Linked DNA regions of Homo sapiens: regions 2 and 3 are each linked to region 1. The links are contacts of gene promoters, found by promoter capture Hi-C in human tissues and cell types (Jung and others, 2019). All regions are on one chromosome and are shown on one strand. The core of a region is centred on a gene start or on the middle of the fragment in contact, and the rest is flanking DNA. Distances in the headings are between cores, read along the strand shown.

Region 1 (4,873 bases), core at 968-3,467:
CGCCTCGGAGCGCCGGACCTCGCGGCTCCCCTCGGCCGCCCGCCCCCGATTTCCTCGGAAGGAGGCTCGCGAAGGTGGAGGAGGCGGCCGAGGAGGAGGAGGAGGCCGCCACGTGACTCTCCTCGCCACATTCCAACACAGCCATCAGATCGATAACTTCAGGGACCCCCGCCCCCGCCGCAGCCAGCTAGTGCGCCCCCAAAATCCCGCACGCACGCCCCGCAACTTCCCTCTCCAACAGGGACGACGGAGAGCTGGACCCCACCGCGAAACGCAAAGGACTCCAGGGGCGGCGGGGAGAAGTAGGGGCGAGGGGCGGTCAACTTCTGGGAATGGCCAAGAGGGGTGCTCTGAGGCCCGAGCCGGGGTCCGGTGCCCGCGGCCGGCGGCCGGGGTCTGTTTACTCCGGCGACGTGCGGAGAGGACCCAAGCAGGACGCGGGCGGGCGGGAGGCGGCGGCCGGGACCCCGGGCCACGTTTGTCACGAGCGGGGGCTGCTCCCCACCTCCGAGATGACTTTTTTCTTCTTCCAAAGAAAAGGAAAAAAGAAGCACCGCACGGTTTTGCATATTTATTCTTTGCGAAAACACACAACAGAAACTTTTTCCTCCAGCCCAGATGTAGATCTCAGACGGGATATTTTTTTTTCCTCCCTCTCCGGATAATTTCGTTTCTTTCTCTCTCTCTCTCTTTTTTTTTTTCGGTTGTTGTTGTCTTTTCTCGCCCACTTTCTACCGCCGCCCCATTCGGGGATCCTCCTCCCGTCTTCGTCTCCCCCCACCCCGACACCTCACCCTCACTCCACCTAGGGGCTCAGCGGGGAGGGGAGCGCGCGCGCCCCCGCACTCACACTCACACTCACGCGCGCACACGCCTCGCAGCCACGCAGCCCTCGCTCCGCTACCCACAGTGACACTCGCGGATGGGGGAAAGCGGGGAGCAGGGGGTTCCTCCTTACCTTTGAGGGATCTCGGTTTCGCTTGCTTGCGGCGAGACATCCTAAAAGCAAACAGCTGAAGTTGTTTCAATTCAGCCCTGAAAGAAACTATACTTCCTCGTGGCCGCGCGCCCCTCGGGCCGCGGCGCCTCGCGCCCTCCGCTCGGCCTCCCTCGCGCCCTCGCTCCGCGCTCCGCTCCTCGCTCCGGCTCCGGCTCGCGCTCGCGCGCGGGGCTCGCGGCTGCCCGAGCTCCGCGCTCTGCACGACGGCGGCGGCGGCGGCGGCGGCTGCTGCACCAAACTTTCCCAGCCTTCGACCCCCACCCCCAATCTCCAAGAAAAAAAAAAAAAAAGGAAAAAGAAAAAAGGAAAGGAGGGAAAAAAAGCTAAAAAAAAAACCCCAAAGACAATGTTTGAAGAGCCGTCAGCTACACTAAAAAGAGAAAATCCGTTACTATTTCCACCTCAATCAAAATTCACATAGTTCATGCGAATAGAAAAAAACTAATAAAAAGAAAAGCGTCTGGGTGATTTTTTTTTTCTTTACCGCTTTTCCTTTTCAACAAATCCGCCCCCCCCCCCACCGGAAAAAAACAAATAACACTGATTTGTTTACAAAGCGAGTCGTGCTCTTTTGTAGTTGGGGGGACGAGGGGGGGAAATCGACCCTGCAAGGCGATGAAAAGGTCTTGGAAAGAAAAATCTCCCACCATCCGAGGCAGATGCGAACGGGCCACGAAAATAAGCAAAGGGAAAAAAATACTTTTTTTCTCCCTTCCCCCCACCCTTTTTTTCTTAACCCACACTAAAGTAATTTCTTTCAAAAAGAAAAAGCCAAAGCACCCGAGCCGACGGCCCCCAGGTGGTGTGCGGGGCTGCTTGTGTGCAGGGGGTGTGCGGGGCCCGGGCTCGGGGCGCCCCTCTCTGGGCGGGGGCGCGGCGCCGGCGGCTGGCGCTGGACCGGGGCTCTAAAGTCTACGGCTGCCTCGGCAGCGGCGGCGGCAGCAGCGGCGGCAGCGGCGGCGGCAGCGGCGGCGAGAGCAGGAGGAGGAGGAGGAGGAGAGCCGGGAGCAGGAGGAGGAGAAGGAGTGTGCTGTGTGCTCCCTCCTCATCACAAACCTGCAAGGTCTTGGACTGCGCTGTCGCTCCGGTAGTCCACATAATAATGGAAAATGGAAGCAAGGCCCCCAAAGCCATCAGGATGGCTCCAGAGGGGGCCCCTAACCCGCAGGGACTCGCTCTGTACGTAATCACTGAGGAAATCATTGTCAGCCTGCCTGCACTCACACACAGACAGAGGGGCATGATTAAAAGGCGAGAGCGCGGGGAGCGGGAGGGAGGAGGGGGCCCGCCAAGACCCGGACTGGAGGCGCCGGCCGCGGCGCGCGGATCCGGAGCCAGGCGGCGGCCGAGCGCCCCGAGCCCCGCCCGCCGCCGCCGCCGCCGCCGCCGCCTCCCACGCGCCGCGCGCCCCGCCCGCTCCTGCGCCGCCGCCCCTCGCGCCGCCCGCCCGGCCGCTCGCACACCCCGCGCCGCCGCCGTCGCCGCCGCCGCAGCTGCGTTATTAGAGCTCCACGGCGGATCTCGGGGCTCTTCTGCTCGCTTTTTTTCCTCTTCAGAAATTAAAGCAGAGGAGCATCTGAAAGTGGAAAGGTCCCCCTTCTGGTAGGATGGATGTAAAAGGAGGCAACAATTTGTTCTTGAGGGGGCAAAAAAAAAAAAAAAAAAAAAGAAAAAGAAAAAGAAAAAGAAAGGAGGGGGGAAATTCATTGCTTGGCTTTTGCATTGTCGGACTTTAAAAAAGTGTGTCTGCTGTTGTTGCCCGGACTCGGGAAATCTTTTTTATGGCAACCGCAGACCTGCCAAGTCTCTCTTACTTGGAATCTTTATAAAGGCAAGTTATTTGGACTTTTTTTTTATTTTCTCGTTTAGAGAAAGTCATTGATGCTGACGAATGTCATAATGTGATTCAAAAGAGACAGCTTTGAGTTCACTTTTTTAACATTCTCAAATTGACATAGATCTTTGTCCAGAAAATAAAGCTTTCTGTTGATTTTTTCTTTAAGCAAGAGGTAAGGAAATATGCACTTAAGAATATGTGTACAAGAAAATAGTTTCTAAAATAAATTGAAATGTCTGCAGGTCGGTGGGAATTTTTGTTTCTTTTCGCAGTTTTGTTTTCTAACTTTTCACCTGCTCCCATCGCAAAACAAGAAACCATCACCTGTTTCCTTCTTTTACCTTATCTTAAGGGAAAGGATGTTTTAGTATTATTATTGTTGTTGCTATTTATTGATTGGACACGCTTGTCAAGTTATAAATGCCTGAGAGGGCTACCAAGTAGAGCTTAGATTCACAAGTCTTGGTGGAAATTAAGAGATTCAGAATACGGTTAATTACACAAAACAGGCAGAATTTTGTACAAATACTATTGTTCTTAATCAGATTTTAAAAATTCTCCGTTCTGTAAAATTAAGGTACAGCTATCTATTAAGCCACCATGCAAAGACATCAAAGCTTTAAGGAAGTTGTATTTTTTCCAGTCTAACCTGTAAACTGCCTGGACCCTCATGTGGATAGCTGCAAATACAGTATGTTTTTTTTCAATATCTTCATTATAATTAAATGAGTTTTCAATCCATCTGCAGTAATTCCTAAAGTGAAATCATAGTTGTAGTCAAATTTAACTTTGCATGACTGTGAAATAAAGCAACTTTTGTTGCAGAATCTGTGTTGGTACATTAAGGATTCTAGATTTTATACATAACCTTATACATTCATTTTCACAGAAATCATTCAGAAAGGGAAAAATGTGTAAACACCAAGTTTTTACAAGACTTTCCTTTCGTGTGGTAGCCATATGTGTGCAGAATACTATGGTGCCATGTATGTGTGGTCCCAAGTTATGTGTGATATTATCTAAAATATTGATGGCATCTAATCCTGGTTTTATTGGAAAGTGAAAAATTGCTAACGTAATACTAACGCGTACCCTAATTTGTTAAAGTTTTCTATATGGGTTGATTTTTTTTGTTTCTTTCTCAAAGTAGTCTACTTTGCTTTACTCTAAAATTGTTCTTTCATTTCCCAATGTTAGTATTTCTGTTGCCTTCCTCTATTAAGAGATAAATAAAACCCTTAGCTCAGAGATTTAGATCTGGCTCAAGAGCCTGATATTTCAGTTTGGGATAGTACTGCATAGCATTTTAAGGGAGGTTAAAGCACCAACCACCCAAAAGACAAACATAAAAACTATTTTAACCTAAATCTGTCAAATATTGACCTATACAGATAGGTAAAATGCTTTTGAAACGTATCTTTAAATACTTTAATTTCCTCCCCCCAAGTTACCAAGGGGGGGAAGATCATTGATTATGTTTCTAAACATAAACCCCAACATCCACCCATGAAGCCAAAGCCATCATCTCTGAGCAGAATGCAGCAACTTTGTGAATATTTGGATGCTGTTGTTGATGATGGGGTAATAATGCATAAAGAACCATGTGCAAGGAATTTTACTAAAGACAAGACAAATATTTTCTTAGGTCTCATTAAGGGGTCTTGAAGTCCAAGATAAAACATCACCCATTCTACCTTTTGGAGGGACAGATCTGGTAGGCAAAACTCCCACTGATTTCAGCATCCCTTACCACCGTATTCCATGTGAATTAATCAATTATGTGGAATTGGTGAGCACTTGGATTTCATTAAACACTGCTGAGTAGCCTCGCAATTACTTTCCATGCTTCGTATATAAACAGACACCAAAAATGTAAACTGTCCAATTCACCTGATAGAGGCTACACAGATGCTAAAGAAGGAAAACTAAGATTTGTCTTTCTTTGGACGATGCGAAAAAGCATAATTAGCCACTGCAGAAAGGTAAACATGCCTAACTGATAAACATTTTTTCATGCTTAACAAAATTCATTTTGG
Region 2 (4,873 bases), core at 991-3,490, 290 kb after region 1:
AGTTTTAAAATAGTTTTAAATTTATTTTTTAAAATAATATGTAAATCTTGTTAAAAAAAATTAATTGAAGAGTTCAAAGGGATAGAGAGAGTAAAGAATGTCTTCTCCCACCTCAACCCTCAGTTCCCAGCTGTCCTTCCCAGAGGCAACCACTATTATCTGTTTCTTAATTATCACTCCAGAGATATTGTATGGAACTGCAAACAAATATATTAATACATCCTTTTTGCTTTATACAGTTGGAGTATACTTTATACACATTTGGCATTGTGCCTTTTCCACTTTACAATCCTCAAGATTACTCCATATCACAGAAAGAAGCTATACCTAATTATTTTCAAAGGCTGCATGTTATTCTGCTGTATGGATATACAAATAGTTTTTAGCCATACCCTTCTGATGCACATTTAGATTATTCCAGCCTTTTGCTAGCATAAATAATGCTGTAAAATAGCCTTCTTTATACAACTTTGCACAGATGTGTAAGTACACTTGAAGGATAAATTTCCACCAGTGAAACTGCAAGTTCAAATGTTACCTGTATTCTTAATTTTGAAATATGTTGAGAAATTTCCCTTCAAAGAGTTCACATGTATTTGGAATCCTACCAACTATGTATGTGAGCACTTGCTTCCAACATTCTGTTAATACAAACTTTTGGAAATTTGTCAGTTTCATGAGCAAAAAGTAGCATATCATTATGTTTCTAATTTGCATTTCCCTAATTATAGGTGAAGTTGAGCATCTTTTCCTAACTTAAAAACACTGGGGCAAGGTGCAGTGGCTCATGCCTGTAATTCCAGCACTTGGGGAAGCTGAGGCGGGTGAATCTCCTGAACTCAGGAGGAGACCAGCCTGGGGCAACATGGTGAAATCCTGTCTCTACCAAAAATACAAAAAAATTAGCCGCACTTGGTCCCAGCTACTCAGCAGGCTGAGGTGAGAGGATCATTTGAGCCTGGGAGGCAGAGGTTGCAGTGAGCCAAGATCACGCTACTGCACTCCAACCTGGGTGACTGAGTGAGACCCCATCTCAAAAAACAAACAAAAAACCCCCAAAATTGGTATTTCTTTTTTTATAATCTTTGTCCATTTATTGTTATTCTTTTCTTAATAAAAAATAGATTTTAAACAACTGTAGGGTCGTATTTATTATTTCTAGAACAAGTGTCAGATGAATAATGTAGGTTTCCGGGTCTGCTTAGGTCTGCTAAGTCTGCCTTGATAAATAAATAGCAGGGAATATGGATCCACCACTAGATAAGGAGTCTCCATACTACTACTATTGAAAAAATCCTAATCATCTGAATAAATGGAGAGAGATACATATTCATTGATGAAATGACTTAACAGTAAAAGATGTCAGTCCTCCCTAATCTCCACATGCAATGCAATTCCAATAAAAATTCTAAGCAGAATTAGTTTTAAAGGAATTCTATGAATTCATCCTGCAATGTTGTGGAAGAATACAAGTGTACAAATAGCCAAGTCAATTTTGAAAAAGAGGAGCAAAGAAAAAGAATCATGTTCTATCATAGAGCAATGTATCCAAAAAGCTTTAGTAAGAAAAACAATATGGCAATTAAAAAACCTTCAAGAGAACATAAAAGATCTCAGAAAAATAGGAAAGTGGCATACTGCTTAGAAAATGATATAGGGGAAACTCTATGGAGAAAAACAGTATTGAATTTCTATATACACCATATTAAAAGTGGATGCCAGATGGAATAAAGACCTAAATAAGAAAGGTAAAATAAAAATGGAAATACTTTGATACTGCTGTTGAGATTATAAATTAGTACAGTAAAATCAGTAAATTAATATAGCCGCTATGGAAAACAGCATAGGGATATTTAAAAAAGAAAACAAAAATAGAATTACCATATGATCCAGCAATCCCACTCTTGAATATTTACCCAAAAGATTTGAAATCGGTTTGTTGAAGAGATGTCTGAACTCCCATGTTTATTGCAGCACTATTCATACAGTAGCCAAGATATGGAATCAACCTAAGTTTCCAACAATGGATGAATGAATTTTTAAAATGTGGTATTTATACACAATGGAATATCATTCAGCCTTACAAAAGGAAAGAAGTTCTGTCATCTGTGACAACATGAATGGAATTGGAGAACATTATGCTAAGTGAAATGTCAGGCTCAGAATAACAAATATTGCATGTTCACACTTACATGTGGAATCTAAAACAATTGAATTCCTAGGAGCGAAGAGCAGAATGGTAATGATAGTCAAGGGAGTGGAGGGATGGGGAGAGGATGGTCAAAAGGCAAAAAATCTCAAACAGAAGGAATGTTTTTTTCTTTTTTGAGTTTTATCACACACTGTGGTGAATATTTGAGGCGATGGATATATTAACTAGCTTGATTTAATTATTCCACATTATATTCCTAAATTATGCCATCATTTATTTCTCCATAAATTTACGTAATTATAAGGGTTTTATCAATTTACAATTTTTAAATCCTCTAGAATTAAAAATAAATAAGGCCAATAGAATAACATGTTCAGGGCATGCTTGAAACTTTCTAAAATACATACCTAAATAAAAAACGTGTCTAGCTGTCTATAAAATAAAGGGCATTATAGGCAAACTTAATGGACAGATCGTGGTTTTGGGGAACATATTTGCAACTTCTAAAATGGAACCAGGATTGATATTTATTAAGAGACTACCTACAAACTCCCGGAAATTAATGAGAAAAGGTAGAAAACACAGTAGAAAATGAAGTGGAGGACAATTATTATGCAGTTCACAGCAGGGAAAACCTACATGGCTATCGAGTTGTTGTAGGTCAGGTTTCCTGGAAGGGAGACTGGGCAATGAAAATTATAATGAAGGAAGTTTGTTAAGAAGTGCTTTCAGGATCAACACCTATTGCTATGGTTTGGATGTGTTTTGTTTGTCCTCACCAAATGTCATGTTGAAATTTAACCTGCAGTGTGGTGGTGTTGGGAGGTGGGGCCTAGCGAGAGGTGTTTGGGTCATGAGGGTGCATCTCTTATGAATGGCTCAGTGCCATTCTTGCAGTTGTGAGTGAATTTTCGCTCTCATGAGATTGGATTGGTTCTGGGGAATAGATTAGTTTCTGTTAGAGTGGTTTGTTATAAAGCCAAGACGCCCCTCAGGTTTGGCTCCTGTTTGGATAGGACTACTTCCCCTTTGACCTTCAACATGTTTTGCCTCAGCTTTTGTGCCAGAAGTCGAGCAGATGCCAGCATCGTGCTTCTTGTAAAGCCTCCAGAACCATGAGCTAAATAAACCTCTTTTCTTTGTAAATGATCCAGCCTCAGGTATTCCTTTATAGCAACACAAAATAGACTAAGACACCTTTGGAAGAAGAAAAGGAAGAAGGTATGGGCCAAGGGAGAAGTTGGTCTGTGATGCAGTCTCAACAAAGGATCTAAGGGGAGCTCCAATTTGGAATAGTGTGGCAGATTCTATTTTCCTAAAACACCTGCCATAACATCTTCTATACTACATGCTGTTCTTACAATGTGACTGTGACACTCCTCCTATAAAAAAGGAAGGTCTATATCTACTTTCCTTAGAACAGGATAAGTTTTCTTGATTATTTCAACCAACAGAAAATAACAAAAGCAATGCTATGTGGCTTTAAAGGCCATAGAGCCTCTGAGTTGTTTGCTTATTCTTGAAGTATTCTGCTGTCATAGAAGCAATCTGACTGGCCTGAGACCACCATGCTATGAGAAAGACCAAACTAGCTCATATGGAAATACCAGACTAGCACATGGCAAGGCCCTGAGATTACATAAAGAGAGAGATGCCTAGCCAACCTTCAGCTGATTTGGCTCTCTGTTACTTTAGCTCTAACCATTATTTGGCAGAAACCACATGAGAAACCCTAAGCCACAACTTCTTAGCTGATTTCTTTCCAAATTACTGACTCACATAAACCTTGCAAAATAATAAAATGATTCTTGTTAAGTCACTAAGTTTCTGGGTGATTTAATATGCATCAATAGATCACTGAAACACATGGCTCTTCAGAATTTGGGCAAAAGATCTCTATTTTATGTGCCTACATCTACCCATCATTGAATAAGGACTGATCTGAAATTCAGGAGTGACGTTGGGCAAGGTGGCTTTCTTCAACCTAGGGCAATTCTCAAAAAGTGTTGATATCTGAGGACTGTCAATCAGCAAAATTCCCAGAAACTTAGGGTGTTTCAGTGTTGAGGCAGGATCTGGATGGCATATCACAGCCTCCATCACAGTCCACCACTTGTACCACTTAGATCACTTCTTTTTACAAGTTCTGCGAGCACTTCAAGATGCTAGCGGGCCTCTTTCCTGTGAGAAACTTAGATGAGGAAGGTAAGTGGCATGACCCACAGCCTCTGCTGCTGCAGTTTGTCTTAAGGCCCCAGCTGATTTTCATCCCTCTCCTTCTTTATCATTTATTCTAGACTCCCCACACCTTCAGTTAGCACATCTCCTGGTCTAAGTGACTTATCTGATGGGGTGACCCAGATCCTCATCACTGAAGAGTCCAACTCTTGGTCACCAAGGTTTTCTGTGGCAGCTATAATTATCCATTTAAATCAAAGTTGGGCAAGGGAATACTAAGACACCAAAGTGGAACTTATGGGTGATAAATACATTTTTCCTACTGTATTCTGTAGAAGAAGCCCTAACTCCTCCTGAATCACAGTCAGTTGGTCTAATGTGACTTTATGTGGGATGCCATGTTGGTGAATAGAACATTCTGTAAATCCTCAGATAGTGGTGCTGGCAAAGGCTATGAGAGAAGAAAAGAATATCTGTCTATTCCAGTGAAAAATAATTGATGTCCCTCTCAAGGTGAATGGTTTCAAGATACTCAAACTGCCA
Region 3 (4,873 bases), core at 1,429-3,928, 290 kb before region 1:
GTTCAGCATTTATGACCCAAAGAACGGTTGGTTTTAAGGAGGAAGTACCTGCTAAGTAGGAACTACCTCCTAATTACTGGAGGATCAACCAGTTTTATGGAGCAAATAATGGTCAACTCCTGCAGCCTCTTGGCTTTGTATGGAAAGAGGCTGAACTGTGTCTGTGCTGAAGGAGCCCGATGCCCAGTCGTGTGGAGGCTTCTAGGGAGAATGGCGAACACAGCCTCTGATGCGTCCTAAGAATTCCAACTCCTGGTGTTTATACTAGAGTCTGGGAAGTCTCTGAGAGGCAATGTTGTTAAAGGCATCTTGGGATACATCCCTGGGTTGACACATTACCTGCTTTCTGTAAATACAGAGCAGCTTACCTTTAGTAAAATATAACTCACTCATTAATAATCAGACATTTTAAAGCTTTTAAAAAAATCATTACTAAGCATGACTATTTCATTCTAAATGCAAAATCCTGAATGGACCAGAGATCTTAATTTTTAAAAAATATAGCTGAGTATTTTAATTATAGATGTACTTGCATATTCTCAGCATACTTCATTATTTATGTAGCTGGTGAAAAAGCTTTTTAATTAAATAGCGTGCTGGCAATCCATTGTGAAATGTATAGATGCAGGTTTTCCTAGCATTATGAAGCTGAATACAGATGTTTGCCAACTTACGATGGATTTAGCCGGATGTAACCCCATTGTAACTTGAGGAGCTACTGAATGTGTATTACTTTTGCACCGTGATAAAGTAAGCTGGGCCAGGCGCAGTGGCTCACGCCTGTAATCCCAGCACTTTGGGAGGCTGAGGCGGGTGGATCACGTGGTCACGAGTTTGAAACCAGCTTCGCCAACATAGTGAAACCCCGTCTCTACTAAAAATACAAAAAATTAGCTGGGCATGGTGGGCGCCTGTAATCCCAGCTACTTGGGAGGCTGAGGCAGGAGAATCGCTTGAAGCCGGGAGGCGGTGGTTGCAGTGAGCTGAGATCGTGCCACTGCACTCCAACCTGGGTGACAATGCGAGACTCCATCTCAAAAAAAAAAAAAAAACCAAAACAAAACTGTAAGCTGAACCATTGTAAGTTGGGAACCATCTGCACACACGCACACACACACACACAACATTCTGGTGAGCACACATACTTTAATCACTATAAAATACTTGTTTCTGAATGATCTTAAAATTTGACCAAACTGTTTTTATATTGCTAACATAATAGGGTAATTTGCCACCACTCCACTTGATTGCTTATGTTTAATGTATTCAACTAATTTGGAAACATGGTAGGGTAGTGGTTCTCAACGTGTGGTCCCCATACCAGCAATACCAGCATCACCTGGGAACTCCTTAGGCAGTTTTGAGCCCCACCCCAGGCCGACTGAATCAGCAGCTCTGGGAGTTGGGCCCAGCACCCCAGGATGTACCAAGCTCTCTAGGTGATCCTGGAACAGGTTAAGGCTCGAGAGCCATGGGATGGGGATTAACTGTGGTGCTGGTAATCTTGGTTTCATCAATGGTTCTCCTGGTGACACGTGGTCACAACAAAGGCAACTGGTCCCTGCTTTTAGTTCCCCACCAAAAAAGTGCTGTGAGGATTCTTGTTTGTTTAAGGTTCAAAGATCTCAGAGCTTAGAAGAGGTCAAAAGACTCACAGTGGCTTAAATATTTTCAGCATAGTTTGCATGAAGGTTGCCCATGAATACCAGGTCTTTACTTACCAATTTTGACTAAACGTGAATATCAGGGTTCACGTTACACATAGCAATTCTTTTCTTCTTTCAAAAAACAAAAAGAAGCTCTGAAATTAGAGCTCTTACTTATTGACCGTTGGATGGCAGGCTGTAGTGGAGGCAACCTTCCAGAGATGCCCCATGCCTGGGTGAAGGCTGATGACCAGGTTCTGTTACCTTCCCGGGCTGGAGGAACCAAGGCTGGGAGGTAAAGGAACTCCCATCGGGAGGCAGTGCCAGAACTACAACTAACAACCATCTGACTCCTTGCTCTGTGCTTTGTCTTCTGAATGAACAATGCTGCTTCTTAAGTACACATAAGCCAAACTGCCTCTCAAATTGCAGCCATCTACTTTGAGTTCAGATTTGCACAGCATGACATGAATTGGGCTGCAAATTATGCAGAAAACAGCCATCACATCCATCTGTGATGTCAGAATCCTCAAGTACAATGTGACCTGTTAGTATGTAACAGAGTAGAAGGATACTGTGTCTGATTCCTTCCCTATGAAGAGTGATGAATATCCTTCCAGATGCATTTGGCCCAGTGTGAAAAGGTTAAATATGATTGAGGTAATGCCTGTGATATGCTCAAGAGCAGATTTCATATCCAAGGGTGCAGGCAATTAGATTTTTTTTAATGGTGTAGTAACTAGAGAAAGAAAACACACAAATACACTCATACCTAATGGTAAACTGAATTTATTTCCTCTTGGAAAACAATTCCAGTAATCTCCAGGTTCAGACTGCAGAGTAAACATTAATAACAGTAACATACAGGTTAGTTCAACTGATTCAAGAATTTGGCTGCGTGAAATCATTAAGGAAAACCTTGAACACTCAAAGCTTCAAATGTATCCAGGGAAAAAAAAATTCTTTGACAGTCTACATAACAACTATTGCATATATAGTGATGCTACCTGTCACATTGCAAGGCTTACAAATATATATATACGGGCCTTATCCAGCTGTGGGGTTCTGTTCTGTGAGAACATCTCTTCATGGTTTGCAAGAATCTTCAGCAATAAAAAATAGTCTTGGATTTAAGCGCTGATATACCTAAAGAGAAATTCTAGGCTTAAGTGTAAAGAAAAGGAAGTCCAACCATAGTCTCATGTATAACAGTTGTTTTTAATCTTTCTTCCTTAAAAATACTTTATCTTAAGCCATTTTGGTCATAGTCTTTTTTTTTTTTTAATCTTGCCTGAATAGGGCCCAAGTCCACTTGTCTTTATAAGACCATTTTAGTATCAGACGACATAATACATGTGCAACACTTTATATACAAGGGGTCTATCCGGTGCGCAAAAGTTCAAACACATGAACATCCAACAGTTTGATAATACAAGTTTTATGGTACAATACAATGTTTCTGAATAATATACATTAACAATGAAAGTTTCGTGCAAAGAGTAAAACATGTTCCCTTTTTGTGCCACAAAATCAATTCTCCTTGAGAGACTGTACTTGCACTAACTGCTGTGTTGGGTCATTGTATGATTCTGTAAATAACAAAAAAAAAAAAAAAAAAAAAAAAAAAAAAAAAGAGAAGAGAGGGAAAACAAACTTCAGTGATTTCATTTTCATCAGACCAAGCATATATACATGTAATTAATTCATAATGACTTGAACAGAACAATGAGTTTCTGCCCTCTGATGAATAGTGCTCATGGGTGCCCTCTAATGTTAAAAAAAATCTAATGTTTCTTCCCCAGGGGGAAACAGACCCAGAGATCTTCTGAACCTGCTGTCACCCATGAGGGCCTGGAAGGAGAGGCCAGGGCAGAAGCCTCCTTAATGTGAGATGGCTGGCTGGCACCTTGCCTTTTCTCCACCTCTGCCATGCCTTTCTATAATACCCTCCCGCCATCCATCATCTCTTCTTATTAAGATACGACCCAGTGTTCAAGGAGCAGGTAGCACTGTTTTAACAGTTTTATGGATCTGTGCGTGATTTCCATTGGTTACATATGCCTCTGTTCCAATCCCTCTGAGACTGTAACATCTTGACAACAGGGGCTCTATCTGCCCCTGAATATGGGTATGAAATGCAAGAGTTAGCTGGCTGATGATGGACAGTGGGAGCAGCCCCCCTCCTGAGGGTGGGCTTTGGGCTGTGGTCATACCGTGGCTCAGGGGCAGATTACAGTAGCCCGCCAGGTCTCCCCTTGTCCCCGGATGCTCTTTCTCAGCTGACACAGCCTGTGCTGTATATTGGTGGTCCCTGCTCATCTATGCTAGCATGTCCCCTTTCTGAGTGAACACTCTCTTTCCAAATTGTGAGAGGGTAACTGGGATTGCTGGGCAACTCAGGACCACCAGCCAGGCCCTGAGGGTGGACGCCGGGTGGGAAAGTTGAGCTGAACCTCTGGTCATTCAGCCTGTATTCAGGGAGCAGGCAGTTTGCTAGTTGCTGTAAAGGATGAAGAGATAACCTGGTTCGCCAGGAACCAGGCCTGGATGATGGTCACAGATCTGCAGGATATTTGCCTGGAGCATAAGCCTGGAGATGGCCTGATCTCCACTCTCCTCCTCTGTGCTTTCCTGGAGCCATGTTCTCTCACTACTCACTTGTATCCCCTGACCCCAATCCCTTTGTATTACAACCTTGGGGCCCAGCTCAAAATATCACCACTTCCATCCTCACCCCATCTAACACTGATCTCTCCCTTCTCTGATTTCCTGCTGCACTTTATACTGCTTACATAGGATGCATCTTAGGTCTTGTCTCATGATTATTTGTAGGCCTGGCTCTCACTCATGCCAATAATTCCGATGTTCATTCATTTATTCATTCATCTACAAGCATCTATTGAAAACGCACATCAGCACCTGGCACATGCCAGAGCGCTGCAGTGCTCAGGAAAGAGGGTTTGGCTATCTCAGTGACTGGCTGGCAAGGCAAGGGCTACTGGAGAGGAAGGGCATGGTCCTTGCCTTCATGCCTTCAAAGTGCTCACAGTCTAAAGAAGGTCATGTGGGTACATAAAAGTAAAGCAAGATGGCAAGCAGTCTATTAGAAAAGAACACAGAAATGTCACGGATACACCTAAACCTGCCTAGCCATTGGGGAATGGTTCCAAGTGGATCCAGCATACTGACAGCCGGAGACATGAGCAGAGAGTACAGGGAGGGCACTC

What was found. The method cuts DNA at HindIII sites, captures the fragments that hold promoters and counts their contacts. A contact is called where the count stands out against the background at its distance.
Region 2: a fragment that was not itself captured here is called in contact with the fragment with the promoter of ZNF521 in region 1 in 1 of the 25 tissues and cell types used here (mesendoderm cells).
Region 3: a contact is called between a fragment that was not itself captured here and the fragment with the promoter of ZNF521 in region 1, in 7 of the 25 tissues and cell types used here (H1 embryonic stem cells, IMR-90 fibroblasts, aorta and 4 more).

Annotation. Positions count from the first base shown.
Region 1 is chr18:25,349,949-25,354,821 of GRCh38, forward strand. It overlaps ZNF521 (zinc finger protein 521), which reads right to left and starts at 2,218. Exons shown (of 8, transcript NM_015461.3): 1 at 2,057-2,218; 2 at 959-999. The coding sequence starts at 998. RefSeq lists a silencer at 2,244-2,313. The HindIII fragment of the contact is 6,455 bases long and covers 1-3,216 here.
Region 2 is chr18:25,643,303-25,648,175 of GRCh38, forward strand. No RefSeq gene overlaps it. Among named protein-coding and RNA genes, the nearest start is that of ZNF521, 290 kb to the left of the region's middle. The HindIII fragment of the contact is 6,660 bases long and covers 1-4,873 here.
Region 3 is chr18:25,059,507-25,064,379 of GRCh38, forward strand. ZNF521 (zinc finger protein 521) reads right to left here. Exons shown (of 8, transcript NM_015461.3): 8 at 2,418-3,235. The coding sequence ends at 3,206. Among named protein-coding and RNA genes, the nearest start is that of LINC01894, 74 kb to the left of the region's middle. The HindIII fragment of the contact is 5,713 bases long and covers 1-4,873 here.